Linked DNA regions of Homo sapiens: all the other regions are linked to region 3. Evidence: promoter capture Hi-C in human tissues and cell types (Jung and others, 2019). All regions are on one chromosome and are shown on one strand. The core of a region is centred on a gene start or on the middle of the fragment in contact, and the rest is flanking DNA. Distances in the headings are between cores, read along the strand shown. Region 1 holds the start of CD52 (CD52 molecule). Region 2 has its middle 18 kb from the start of MAN1C1. Region 3 holds the start of STMN1 (stathmin 1).

Evidence for each region. The method cuts DNA at HindIII sites, captures the fragments that hold promoters and counts their contacts. A contact is called where the count stands out against the background at its distance.
Region 1: the fragment with the promoter of CD52 here is called in contact with the fragment with the promoter of STMN1 in region 3 in 1 of the 25 tissues and cell types used here (IMR-90 fibroblasts).
Region 2: a fragment that was not itself captured here is called in contact with the fragment with the promoter of STMN1 in region 3 in 1 of the 25 tissues and cell types used here (adrenal gland).

What each region holds. Positions count from the first base shown.
Region 1 is chr1:26,316,358-26,320,229 of GRCh38, reverse strand. It overlaps CD52 (CD52 molecule), which reads right to left and starts at 2,272. Exons shown (of 2, transcript NM_001803.3): 1 at 2,159-2,272; 2 at 1-59. The coding sequence starts at 2,212. It also overlaps a transcript of UBXN11 not described here. RefSeq lists enhancers at 1,266-1,365, 507-1,492, 1,866-2,015, 2,146-2,215 and a silencer at 2,290-2,482. The HindIII fragment of the contact is 5,127 bases long and covers 1-3,872 here.
Region 2 is chr1:25,597,241-25,601,020 of GRCh38, reverse strand. No RefSeq gene overlaps it. Among named protein-coding and RNA genes, the nearest start is that of MAN1C1, 18 kb to the left of the region's middle. The HindIII fragment of the contact is 8,864 bases long and covers 1-3,780 here.
Region 3 is chr1:25,904,491-25,908,196 of GRCh38, reverse strand. It overlaps STMN1 (stathmin 1), which reads left to right and starts at 1,778. Exons shown (of 5, transcript NM_005563.4): 1 at 1,778-1,808; 2 at 3,459-3,533. The coding sequence starts at 3,521. It overlaps MIR3917 (microRNA 3917), which reads left to right and starts at 1,743; the gene lies at 1,743-1,835. It overlaps LOC105376885 (a long non-coding RNA gene), which reads right to left and starts at 1,647. Exons shown (of 2, transcript XR_947102.1): 1 at 1,551-1,647; 2 at 1-1,161. RefSeq lists silencers at 1,536-1,845, 1,866-1,955, 2,346-2,765, 2,545-2,839. The HindIII fragment of the contact is 6,882 bases long and covers 1-3,706 here.

The DNA of each region.
Region 1 (3,872 bases), core at 1,023-3,522, 410 kb before region 3:
GATGCTGAGGGGCTGCTGGTTTGGCTGGTGTCGTTTTGTCCTGAGAGTCCAGTTTGTATCTGTAGGAGGAGAAGTGGGATAAGATCAGGGGACTTTTTTTTTTTTTTTTAGAGGTGGAGTCTCACTCTGTCACCCAGGCTGGACTGCAGTGATGCGATCTCGGCTCACTGCATCCTCCACCTCCCGGGTTCAAGTGATTCTCCTGCCTCAGCCTCCTGAGTAGCTGGGACTATAGGCACGTGCCACCACGCCCGGCTAATTTTTCTATTTTTAGTAGAGACGGGGTTTCACCATGTTGGTCAGGCTGGTCTCGAACTCCTGACCTGGTGATCCACCCGCCTCGGCCTCCCAAAGTACTGGGATTACAGGTGTGAGCCATCGTACCCAGCCCTCAGGGGACTTTTGAATAGCGTGTTTGTTATTTAAAGATGCAGTCCCCTTTCTACCCTCCCCGCCCTCCATCCGCCCACCTCCATAAAACAGTCCTCAGTTCTGCCCCATGTGACCACTACTTCTTCCACAAGGTCCTGTCAGGATGTTTGACTGCTTCCTGCTTTGACACAGGCAGGGACAGAGGTGATCACTGCCCCTGTCCACCCCCTTTCACAGAAACTTTCTGTTTTTTTGAGATAGAGTTTCGCTCTTTTGCCCAGGCTGGAGTGAAGTGGCATGATCTCGGGTCACTGCAACCTCCACCCCTCAACCTCCCGAGTAGCTGGGATTATAGGCAGCCGCTATCACGCCCAGCTAATTTTTTTTTTTTTTCCGAGACAGAGTCTTGCTCTGTCGCCCGCCCAGGCTGGAGTGCAGTGGCGTGATCTCGGCTCACTGCAAGCTTCACCCCCAGGTTCACGCCATTCTCCTGCCTCAGCCTCCCGAGTAGCTGGGACTACAGGCGCCCGCCACCACGCCACGCCCGGCTAATTTCTTTTTGTATTTATGGTAGAGACGAGGTTTCAATGTGTTAGCCAGGATGGTCTCGATCTCCTGACCTCATGATCCACCCGCCTCAGCCTCCCAAAGTGCTGGGATTACAGACGCGAGCCAGCGCGCCCGGCTCGCCCAGCTAATTTTTGTATTTTTAGTAGAGACGGGATTTTGTCATGTTGGCCAGGCTGGTCTTGAACTCCTGACCTCAGGTGATCCGCCTGCCTCGGCCTCCCAAAGTGCTGGGATTATAGGCGTGAGCCACCGTGCCCGGTCACAGAACCTTTCTTTTCACCTTTCCCCAGCGACCAGCCCTTCTGGCATAGAGGGAGACAGGGGAGCCCTGGCCCTTGACCTTCCTAGCCTGGCAAAGGGCTTAGCTTCCCTGAGCCTCAGTTTCATCTTCTGAGTGGGGAGAAGTTCATCACAGTTGTGAAGGTCACATGAGCCAGGGCTGAGTGAGAAAGCACTTGGCAAAGCGTGGGTGGCTGGATGTGGGGTGGGGAAGTGGCCAGATGGTGATCGAGCTGTCCTTAATGCTTGATGGAGCTGCAACTAGAACTGTTCTTGATGGAGATTAAGCTGGTTTTGATGGTGATCAAGCTGTTCTTGATCAAGAACTTGATGGCTCCGGTCTGCTGTACTGACTCCCCTCTGGGCACCTGGGATGCTACCAAAGCTGCCTCCTGGAATAGCAGTCGCTTTTGAGACTCCAGTTGTTTCTGAAATGGGAGAGTCCTGTCTTCTTTGCATTCCTGAACATCCAGGCTTCTCTCTGGCAGGGGAGTGGGGGTTAGAGTGTCCCCTGTCACCTCCATAACCACAGCAGGCTCCACTTGGACATCTCCTGGCCTCTCCCCAAAGGACCATCTCCCCAGACTCCCTGTGGGCCGATGCCTTCCTCACTCAGGGTTGTCTTCCCAAGTCTCTTAGTTCTCTATTATTCCACAACACCCCTTGGGTGCCCCAACGCGCCTAGCACCCTGTAAGTGCTCCCCAGCTGTGGATACAGGTTTCTCTCAGGGCAGCCCGCAAGCAGTGCAGCCCCAGCCAGAAGAGCTGGAAGGCTGGGCGGCCAGGCCCGCTGTGTCCCCAGTTTTCCTGTTGGAGTCCATCTGCTGTGCTCTCAGGAGAGAAGGCTGGGTCTCTGGGAGCTCACATCCTGTATGCCCTCCCTCCATGCCAAGCAACTTTGGGGAGTCCTGGCAGTGGTGCCAGGCGTTGCTCTTACCTGTACCATAACCAGGAGGCTGATGGTGAGTAGGAGGAAGAGGAAGCGCTTCATTTTGGTAGGATCTTCGTGGCTGTCTTGGTAGCAGCTTTTTAGGTGATCTCAGGGCTGTCTGGAGGCTTCTTTTGGTTTAGCTGCTTTTGAACCAGGAGGCAGAGGAGGCGGGGTGAGGTAGGGAGAGGAAGGAGGGCTTACAAGGTGGAGGAGGGGTGTGGCTTCCTTTCTGCAGATCTGGGGGTGGATAATACCAGGCTCTAGGTTCTAAGGCCCTGGCTGGGGGAGCAGGCTAGATCGTACAAGATAGGAGAGAGGTCAATCCAGAGGCAACGGTGGGAGTAAGTAGGGCCCAAGGCCTGGAATCATGCATCCTGCAGGCTGAATCCTGGTTTAATCACTGACCAGCTCTGAGACCCTGGGCCAGAAACTCTACCTCTCTGACCCTTTAACAAAAGAACTGCCGGATTACATGTAATAATAACCAATTTAAAAAGAGCCAGAACATAGCAGATATTCCGTAAATGAGTTTGTTGTTTAAAGAAGATTGGGGCAGGGTATAGGAGCTGAAGGAGAAGGGCTGGGATAGATTTATGTTTCAAGGGAAGGTTGTAGATGGGCTGCAGGTTCTGAATGAAAGCTTGGGAAATGTTTAGATTGTGGAAGGGTTGGTGGATTTCTGTGAAGGTGCTGGAGGTGAGGAATCGGGAAGCCTGGTTTCAGTTGGGCTTTCCCTCTCTAGGCCTCAGTTCCTCATTTCAAGGAACTGGGAAGACTGAAATAGATTATTTCTGAAGTTTGTTAAAACCTAGTGTTTTGTTTTGTTGTTGTTGGTTTTTTTGTTTTTTTTTTTAAACAGAGTTTTGCTCTGTGCACTGGCATGATCTCGGCTTACTGCAACCTCCACCTCCTGGGTTCAAGCAATTATCCTGCCTTGGCCTCCCGCATAGCTGGGACTACAGGTGTGTGCCACCATGCCTGGCTAATTTTTTGTATTTTTTTTTTTTTTTTAGCGGAGACTGGGTTTCACCATGTTGGCTAGGCTAGTCTCGAATGCCTGATCTCAAGTGATCCGCCTGCCTCGGCCTCCCAAAGTGCTGGGATTACAGGCATGAGCCACCGCGCCCAGCCAAGACCTAGAATTTTGTGATTTTGGTAGAGAAAGTAGCAAGCAGATGGGTTGTTTGTATTAGCTGAGGATGAATGGGAGGGGAGCGAGGGAAGGGACAAGTGGGTGACTAAGCTACAGTGGAAGGGGACTGGGGTGAGAGAGTGGCTGTGAGGGCCCAGGGAGGGGTGGGGGGATGAGAGGAATCCCACAGCTGCCTGGATAGTGCTCCATGCTTTATGCATTCCCTCACTTGATACCCTCTGTGGTGCCCTGCAGCAGGTGTTATGTTTATCCCCATTTGACTGGTGAAAAAACTGAGGCTTAGATGTTAAGTGACTTGCTAAGGTCGTAAATGGTGGAGCCAGTCTCATTTGACCTTGAATCCAGGTCTGTCTGAAGCCACAGCCATGTATGTAACCTCTGGGGCTGCCCTAGAATTCATCCATTAAGTCTTGATTCCCTGCCACTCCCTCCCCCTCCCCTACACAAACTCCCCCCAGGCCCCAGGAGTTGGTCACCACAACCCCAGCTCTGGCCCACTCTCCCTTCACACTCTCCCTTCCTTAGTCTACTTTAGGCCTCATTTACATGCTAGGTAGTAAAGGGAAA
Region 2 (3,780 bases), core at 151-2,650, 310 kb after region 3:
AAGTCCAAGACCAGCCTTGCCAACATGCGGAAACCCTGTCTCTACTTAAAACAAACAAACGAATGAACAAAAAAATGAAAATTAGCCGAGCGTGGTGGTATACGCCTGTAATCCCAACTACTTGGGAGGCTGAGTCAGGAGAAGTGCTTGAACCTGGGAGGCAGAGGTTGTAGTGAGCCGAGATTGTGCCACTGTACTCCAGCCTGGGTGACAGAGTGAGACTCTGTCTCACAAAAAAAAAAAAAAAAAAATACTGGCCAGGAAATCCAGTTAAATTTGAATTTCAGATAAGCTACAAATAATTTTTACTAAGTACGCTCCATGCATTATTTGGGGACATACATATACCAAAAGGACACTGATTATTTATCTGAAATTCAAATTTAACAGGCTTTCCTGTATTTTTCCTGATGATTCAAGCCCTTAGCTGACTATACCACACACAGGGGCTGGCACACAGTAGGTACTGATTGAAGGAGGGATTTGTTTCACCTTCTAACTGGAGGCGAAATCAAAATTTTACATTTCACTGGGTCAGAGTGGACTTTCTAGTTACTGCCGTGAGTTTTAATTATCAAAATGAAACTGTTTACTTTGACCAAAAGGGAACAGAAAGCCATAGAACTGCCTGAATTATCAGCAGGAGTCAAGAAGGGAAATCGGTTCTTTATAGAGCAAGTTTGCAGGTAAAGGAGACCATTTCCTCCTTGTCCCCCCTCAATTCCAGCCTATTCAATTCATTTATTCAACAAATATTTATTGAGTGCCTACCGTGTGCCAGGCACTGCTCAACAAATCAATGAAATTATTATTATCATCCTTCTTATGGTCCCATTTGATTGAAGAGGAAAACTGAAGTCCAGAGAAGTTAGGTGACTTGCCCGAGGTAACACAGCAGGTGGGTGTTGGATATAAGATTAACACCCAATATATCCGATACCTGAGCCCTTGCTCTTTCCATTGTGTGACTCTGTAGAGGTACGAGGCCCTTAGAAGGAACTAGGCAGGTAGAACTCACACAGAGAGCCTGCAGCCCCTCAGCCAACACCCAGTATTATCCTTTTATCTCTGATGCATCTACCTGGCTCCCCTTCAACCACTACCCCCTGTCCCAAGCCACACTCAGCTCTTGCCTCAACAACAGCAATAATTTCCAGGCTGGTCCACCTCTCTGGCTCCCTGCAATCTGTTCTCCATACAGCAGGCAGAATGGCCCATATGAAAGGTAGATGCAACCATGTCACCTTTCCACTATGTCATTTTCCCACCTTTCTTTCTTTTCCTTTCTTTCTTTCTTTCTTTCCCCTTCCTTCCTTCCTTTTTCTATCTTTCTTTTTTTCTATCTTTCTTTTTCTTCTTCTTTTCTTTCTTTCTTATTTCTTCCTTTCTTTTCAGAGTTTTGCTCCTGTTGACCAGGCTGGAGTGCAGTGGCACAATCTCGGCTCACTGCAACCTCCAACTTCTGAGTTCAAGCAATTCTCCTGCCTCAGCCTCCCGAGTAGCTGGGATTCCAGGTGCTCACCACCACATCCAGCTAATTTTATATTTTTAGTAGAGACAGGTTTTTGCCATGTTGGTCAGGCTGGTCTCGAACTCCTGACCTCAGGTAATCTGCCCACCTCAGCCTCCCAAAGCCCTGGGATTACAGACATGAGCCACCATGCCTGGCCACCTTTCCACCTTTCTACCTTTCTATCTCCTCGGATATCCATAAAGCTGCTAACCATGGCCCGGCTAATAATCCACCTTTGCTGACTCCTCCAGCTGCCTCTTGCTTCCCTGGCCTGTAGCAGTCAGTGTTTTGTTATCTTTTACTGCATATCATCCCAACATTTAGTGCCCTAAAACAACTGTTTATATCTCTTGTGATTCTCTGGGTTGACTGGGCTCAGCTGTATGGTTCTTCTGGGGCTGTAGTCATCTGGAGGCTTGACTCGGCTGGCTTTCCAAAGTGGCTTACTCACATGTCTGATGGTTGATGATGGCTGTTGCCTGGGAGTTCAACTGGGGCTGTTGCCTGGAGTGCCAACATGCAGCCCTCCATGTGGCTGGGGCTTCTCACAGCATGCCAGCTGGGTTCTGAGACAGAGTGTCTCAAGAGTGAGCATTCCAGTAGCTCTTAATTTCCAGGCTAGGCCTAGAATTGACGAGCATCAGTTCCACCACTTTCTTTTTGGTTAAGCAGTCACAGGGCTGGTGCCAATTGAAGGGAGGCAAAATAAGCTTCATTTCTCAATGGGAAAACTTTATGTTTCGCTTTAATACACCACAGTCAGTCTCCGTTTCAGATCACAGGAACTGCAGCAGCTTGTTTAGGAAGAAAGGAATTTAATACAAGGGAAAGGTACTTACACCAGTGTTGGGAGGGTTGGAGAGGCTGACTCTAGGCTGAGCTTCCAGAAATGATCCCCAGAAGAACACTGCAGAACTGGCCTGCCAGGGGAGCTGCAGCCACCACCATAATCAAGAAGCTGGGAAATCAGGTGGCCACCACCCCTGCCGGCTCCAGGAAGGACAGTACTCTACCCTGACCCATGCCGCAGAATGGGTGACCCAAGCTCTTCCCCTACAATCACAACACATGGATCTAGACGCTGAGCCCTCTGCAACAGCTGCTGTGGAAAAACAAATACCTCCTTGACTCTGCTTGTCCAAAGACCAGAGAAACATGGCCCCTGACTTAGAACATTAACATCCATGGTACATCTGATTGGTAGAGCCTAAGTCGCATCTGACCTGCACCCTTGGCTTCAGAGACATCTAGCTTCTGAGTCTCTCTAGTACAGGAAGACACACAACAAAAGAGGCTGAGCGAGCCAAGCTGTCGCCTCTTTGCAGTCCTGGGCCTTCTCTCAAGTCTCCCTGCCTCTTCTTGCTGCTACAGGGCTTTGCACACGCTATTTGCTTCTGTCTGTGATTCCCTTCCTTCTCTCTTCTTCCCCTCTTCCTTCGGATCCCAGCACAAGTATTTTCTCTGATCTTCCTATCATTTTATATATCCATTCTACAGACGAGGAAACAGGCCAAAACTGGTTAAGTAATTTGCCCAAGAGCACACCAGTAAACAGTGTAGCTGAGATTTGAACCCACACAGCCTGACTCCAGAGCCTGCTCTTAACCATCGCATGTTATACAAAGGTGAGTTCACCTGTGTTAAAAGGCCCAGGCAGGGCAGATAAACAAGGATGATGCTTCAGCAAATGCTGGTGAGAACAAAAAACTCAGAGTGACAGCAAGTGCAGGTGGAAGGTCGCAGGACAAGGTCAGATGCTAGAGAGCTTGGCCCTAGATCCCAGAGAACATCAACAGGCTGAGTTTCAAATGGAGCTGAGCTAGAGGAGTACAAAAATCCCCAAAACTGCTGCCCTCCACTCAGGGAGCAGAGAGCCATTTGCCCCATGTATCGGGGGAGGAAAGCATCCTGTGTCTCTCCTGCGTGGGACTGCCATTTTCAGTGGCAAAACCCACAATCACAGTGAGCAAAGTGTGCTCAGCTCTCACAACTTTAACAGAATTTGTAAGGCAAAGAGACAGCTATGAAGGGGAGGGCTGGGCACAGTGGTGCATGCCTGTAGTCCCAGCTACTCAGGAGACTGAGGCAAGAGTTTGGAGTTGTAGCATGCTATGATCATGCCTGTGAGTAGCTACTGTACTCCAGCCTGGGCAACATAGCAAGACCCTGGTTCTAAAATATGTGTGTGTGTGTACATATATATATATATATATATATATATATATATATATATATAATTTTTTTTTTTGAGACAGAATCTCGCTCTG
Region 3 (3,706 bases), core at 529-3,028:
AATGAGTGGGACCTTCCTCTGTGAACCTCCAGATCAAATACAAAGACTTCAAGATAAAAAGCCTGTTCAGTGGGTAAGGACCTCTTGGGCTTGGGTTCCTTGCTCATTTGTGTTGCCTGCCTATCTGTCGCTTTCCTGAGGGGTCTCATGCCCATCCTTCTCCAACTTTTCTAATGATGTCTGAGATTCTGTTCAGAAAAATGACAGACGGAAGCACCTAGCCATTTTGAAGCTAAGTTTGGTCTGAGAAGAAGCCTTTCAAGGCTCAGTATCTGAATTATTCCTGGTCCTGCTCACAGGCTAAGTGAAAACCACTTCGATTGGCTTGGGGGGGAGGCCGACCCCACACAAGGGCGATTGTTGGAAAAAATGCCGCAACAAGCATATTTCAGGCAACAGCGCATTGCTAATTGTTTGCTTTGTGTAGTGTGCTGCTGCTTGTATGATCCAGTTTTTATTGTCTTGGGCACCCCTTAGTTGTATTTTATCTCTGGCACATCCCTGGTGACTAACTAGGCATGAGAGTCTTTCTAAATTAGGACTGTTGTTTCAGGAAGGTTGGTCACATTTGTTTCTTGATTTGGGGAGATGCAGCTCATTAATAAAATAAAGATATCTCTTCTGCTTAGTCAAGATCTCAAAGCAGGTGTCTTGGTGTATTGACCACCAACCGAGGACACGGTCTTGGTCAGAGAATGGGAGGAGGCGGGGACCATGTTCATTTCATTTATTTTTTTCCCCTTTTTGTGAGAGAAAGGGCCAGTTATTCTAAGGCACGGTCAGACCAATTTCCTTTGTGCCTTTGCTGAGGTTCTGAGCTATCCAGGTCAGGGAGAACAGTGACCTTGTGGCTCCTTTTTCGATTTTTAAAAAGAACCCAGTGCTGCTCTGGGGAGCACGTGCTCTGAGAACAAAAGCAACACTTAACTGCAATCTGTGTAGTCTAGAACGGCTATTGCTCTTCCTCCCCTATCATCCGCAGAAGGCTTGGAAGAACAGATGGAGTCTGCATTTAAGCTGAGTGGCTTTGTTAGACCAAAGGCGATCAAATTCCAGAGCCCCACGCTTTCCCGCACAGGTCCCTGGTCACCGGCTCGGGAACCTGAGGATGCTGGCAAGAACGCACACAGTGAGGGAAGGGCCACGCCCGCGACCTGTGGGCTGAGTGGATTAGAAATTACGATGATGTCACAATATGGGTGACACGCCGGTGTCGGTGTAGGGTGCCGGGGGCAGGGGGCCCTGCAGGGGCGTGGAGTGGCATTGTGCTGTCACAGGGGCTCGGGCGTCTTAGGCACCCATGTGGGTGGCGCACTAGAAGGGGCACTGCTCTGTCCGAGTGCTGCCCTTGGGGCGAGGCGGGCATGTGGCTCTACAAGGTGGAGTCCAGGCGGCCAAAGTTTGGAAAGGTAGGGAAGGACCCCCCCGCCCTCCGCCTGCTCCGCCCTGCCCTTGTTCTCGAGAATGGGGAGCTGGTTCGGACCTAGTCCGGGGTCCACTGCCACGCCCTCTTCCACGGCGAGACCACCCCCCTAGTCCCAGGCCCACACCTGGGGATGCTCCCCAGGCGCCCTGCAACCCCCGGCATTGTCCTCCTGCCCTCCGGGACAGGACTACACTTCCCGAGGTGCTTCGGGGTCCCGGGGGGCGGCGCTCCACGCGGGTTGTGGGGGGCGGGGGCGGCACGTGCCGCCGCTCTCGGCCAATGCGGAGCCCCGCGCGGAGGTCACGTGCCTCTGTTTGGCGCTTTTGTGCGCGCCCGGGTCTGTTGGTGCTCAGAGTGTGGTCAGGCGGCTCGGACTGAGCAGGTGGGTGCGGGGCTCGGAGGAGGCGGCGGCTGGCTGAGGCCAGCAAGAGGGACGCGGTCGGCGGGAGGGGCTGGGCCGTGGCAGCGACCCCCTGCTGCAGGGCGGCGGGCGGGGCTGCGGGCCTCGGAGGGGTTGGTGGGCGGGGGTCGCTCCGCTTTGTGTGTGGCTCGGGCGGAGCCTCGCCTTTGTCCCCGCTCTCCGGGGGCGCGGCTGTTCGTGGGCAGGGGGCTGGGCGATCACCGGGCGTCCGCTCCGGGGTGCCGTCGAGGAGACAATAGGGGGCGTGGGCCCTCGTTTACCTCCCTCCCTCCCTCCCTTCCCTGCGGGCCCCGCCGGGTTCCCCATTGTCTGAAGGGACGGGGCGGTGCCCCAGGGACCAGCGGCTTTAGGACCAAACTGCGGGCAGCCAGGGCCGCGACCCTCCCTGCGACCGTCCCCTGGCGACCGCAGCTGGTGATTGAGGGGCGGCGCTCCCGGGCCCCACGAGGGTTCTTCTGTCTTCGCGGCCGGACGCGCGGACAGCGTGGGTGGCGGCAGGTTGGGCATGGGGACGGCGGGAGGCGGTGGCGAGCTCACCGCGGGACCACCCGGGGGCCTGTTCCCGGGGCCTGCCCCACCCGCTGAACTGTGAAGGGGGTGGTGGCGGCGGCCTGGAGGTGTTTTTGGCGGGAGTTGGGGGGGGCGTCCGCGCAGGGGGAGTCAGGCAGGGGCGGAGTTACCCGGATTGGACCGTTAGCCCCGCCCACCCCTCCCCTTCCCACGCGCGCGGGCTCCGGGGTGTTGAGTTCGGGGAGATTCGAAAAGGCGCGGGGAGGAAGGGGGCGGGGCCAGGGGCCGGAGCGCAAGGCGTGCTCTGATTGGCCGGGGGCGACCGGTCCTCTTTTCCTCGCCCGGACCAGGGCCACGCCCATCCTGGGTCCGGTGCTGCGTCTAATTCTCTGCTTTTCTTAAATCTTGTCGCTGCCTCTGATTTTAATTCCTAGCTTTTGGGAACCTGTCATCCTACGTTTTTGGTACTAGCTGGCGTCTACAAAAGTCATAATGTTAAAAAGATCAACAAGAGATACAGCATTTTTCATGACATAACGGCAGCAAATATAAGTCAAAATCTAGAGGTTCATAAACATTTTGCTTGCTGTTGGGCAAGGAAGCTTAAACCTGAGGGACAATAGGAGTTCAACATTATTGGTTACTATTAGCTTGGGCGTTTTCTTATCCACCACGTCAGACACAGACAAAGCAGGGGTGGGTATTTCATTTGCACAATGAGTTGTAGGCAGTATTAAGATGGCTCCGGGGGCACTGTTGAGTTGAATCTGGAATATCTTCTTACAGTTTCGGTGAAATGTTAAAGAGTTTATGGGGGAAAAATTCTTCACCCTTGTGACTTTGTCTGATTTTAAAAATCCAAGAGTTTTATGACCGAGAAAGCTCAGTTAACTTGATTTTCTGGAACCAATATCATATTCAGGTCATATTTCCCAATGTTTATTTAGTAGATTTTGATAATTTTTTTCGTGGTTAATTTAGACGTCTTTATTCCACGTATTTTTCTGACGATGTATGTAGATGTGATGTGAGATTTTTTTGGGTTGATGACATATAGAAAGGCAAAGAAAGTGATTGCATGTTTTTGAAAATCATTTTCAGGACTTTCCTTATCCCAGTTGATTGTGCAGAATACACTGCCTGTCGCTTGTCTTCTATTCACCATGGCTTCTTCTGGTAGGTAATCTATTTGGAAAATCTGAAATTGTAATGGGCTTATGATTTTAGATTGAGATGGCTCAGGTCTTCGCCTTTGATTTGGCACTTATGTTTTGGTCTTACCAAAACCTATTTTATGAATAGGAGAAGAATTTAAAAATGATTATCACTTGAATGTGCCGAGAGCTCGT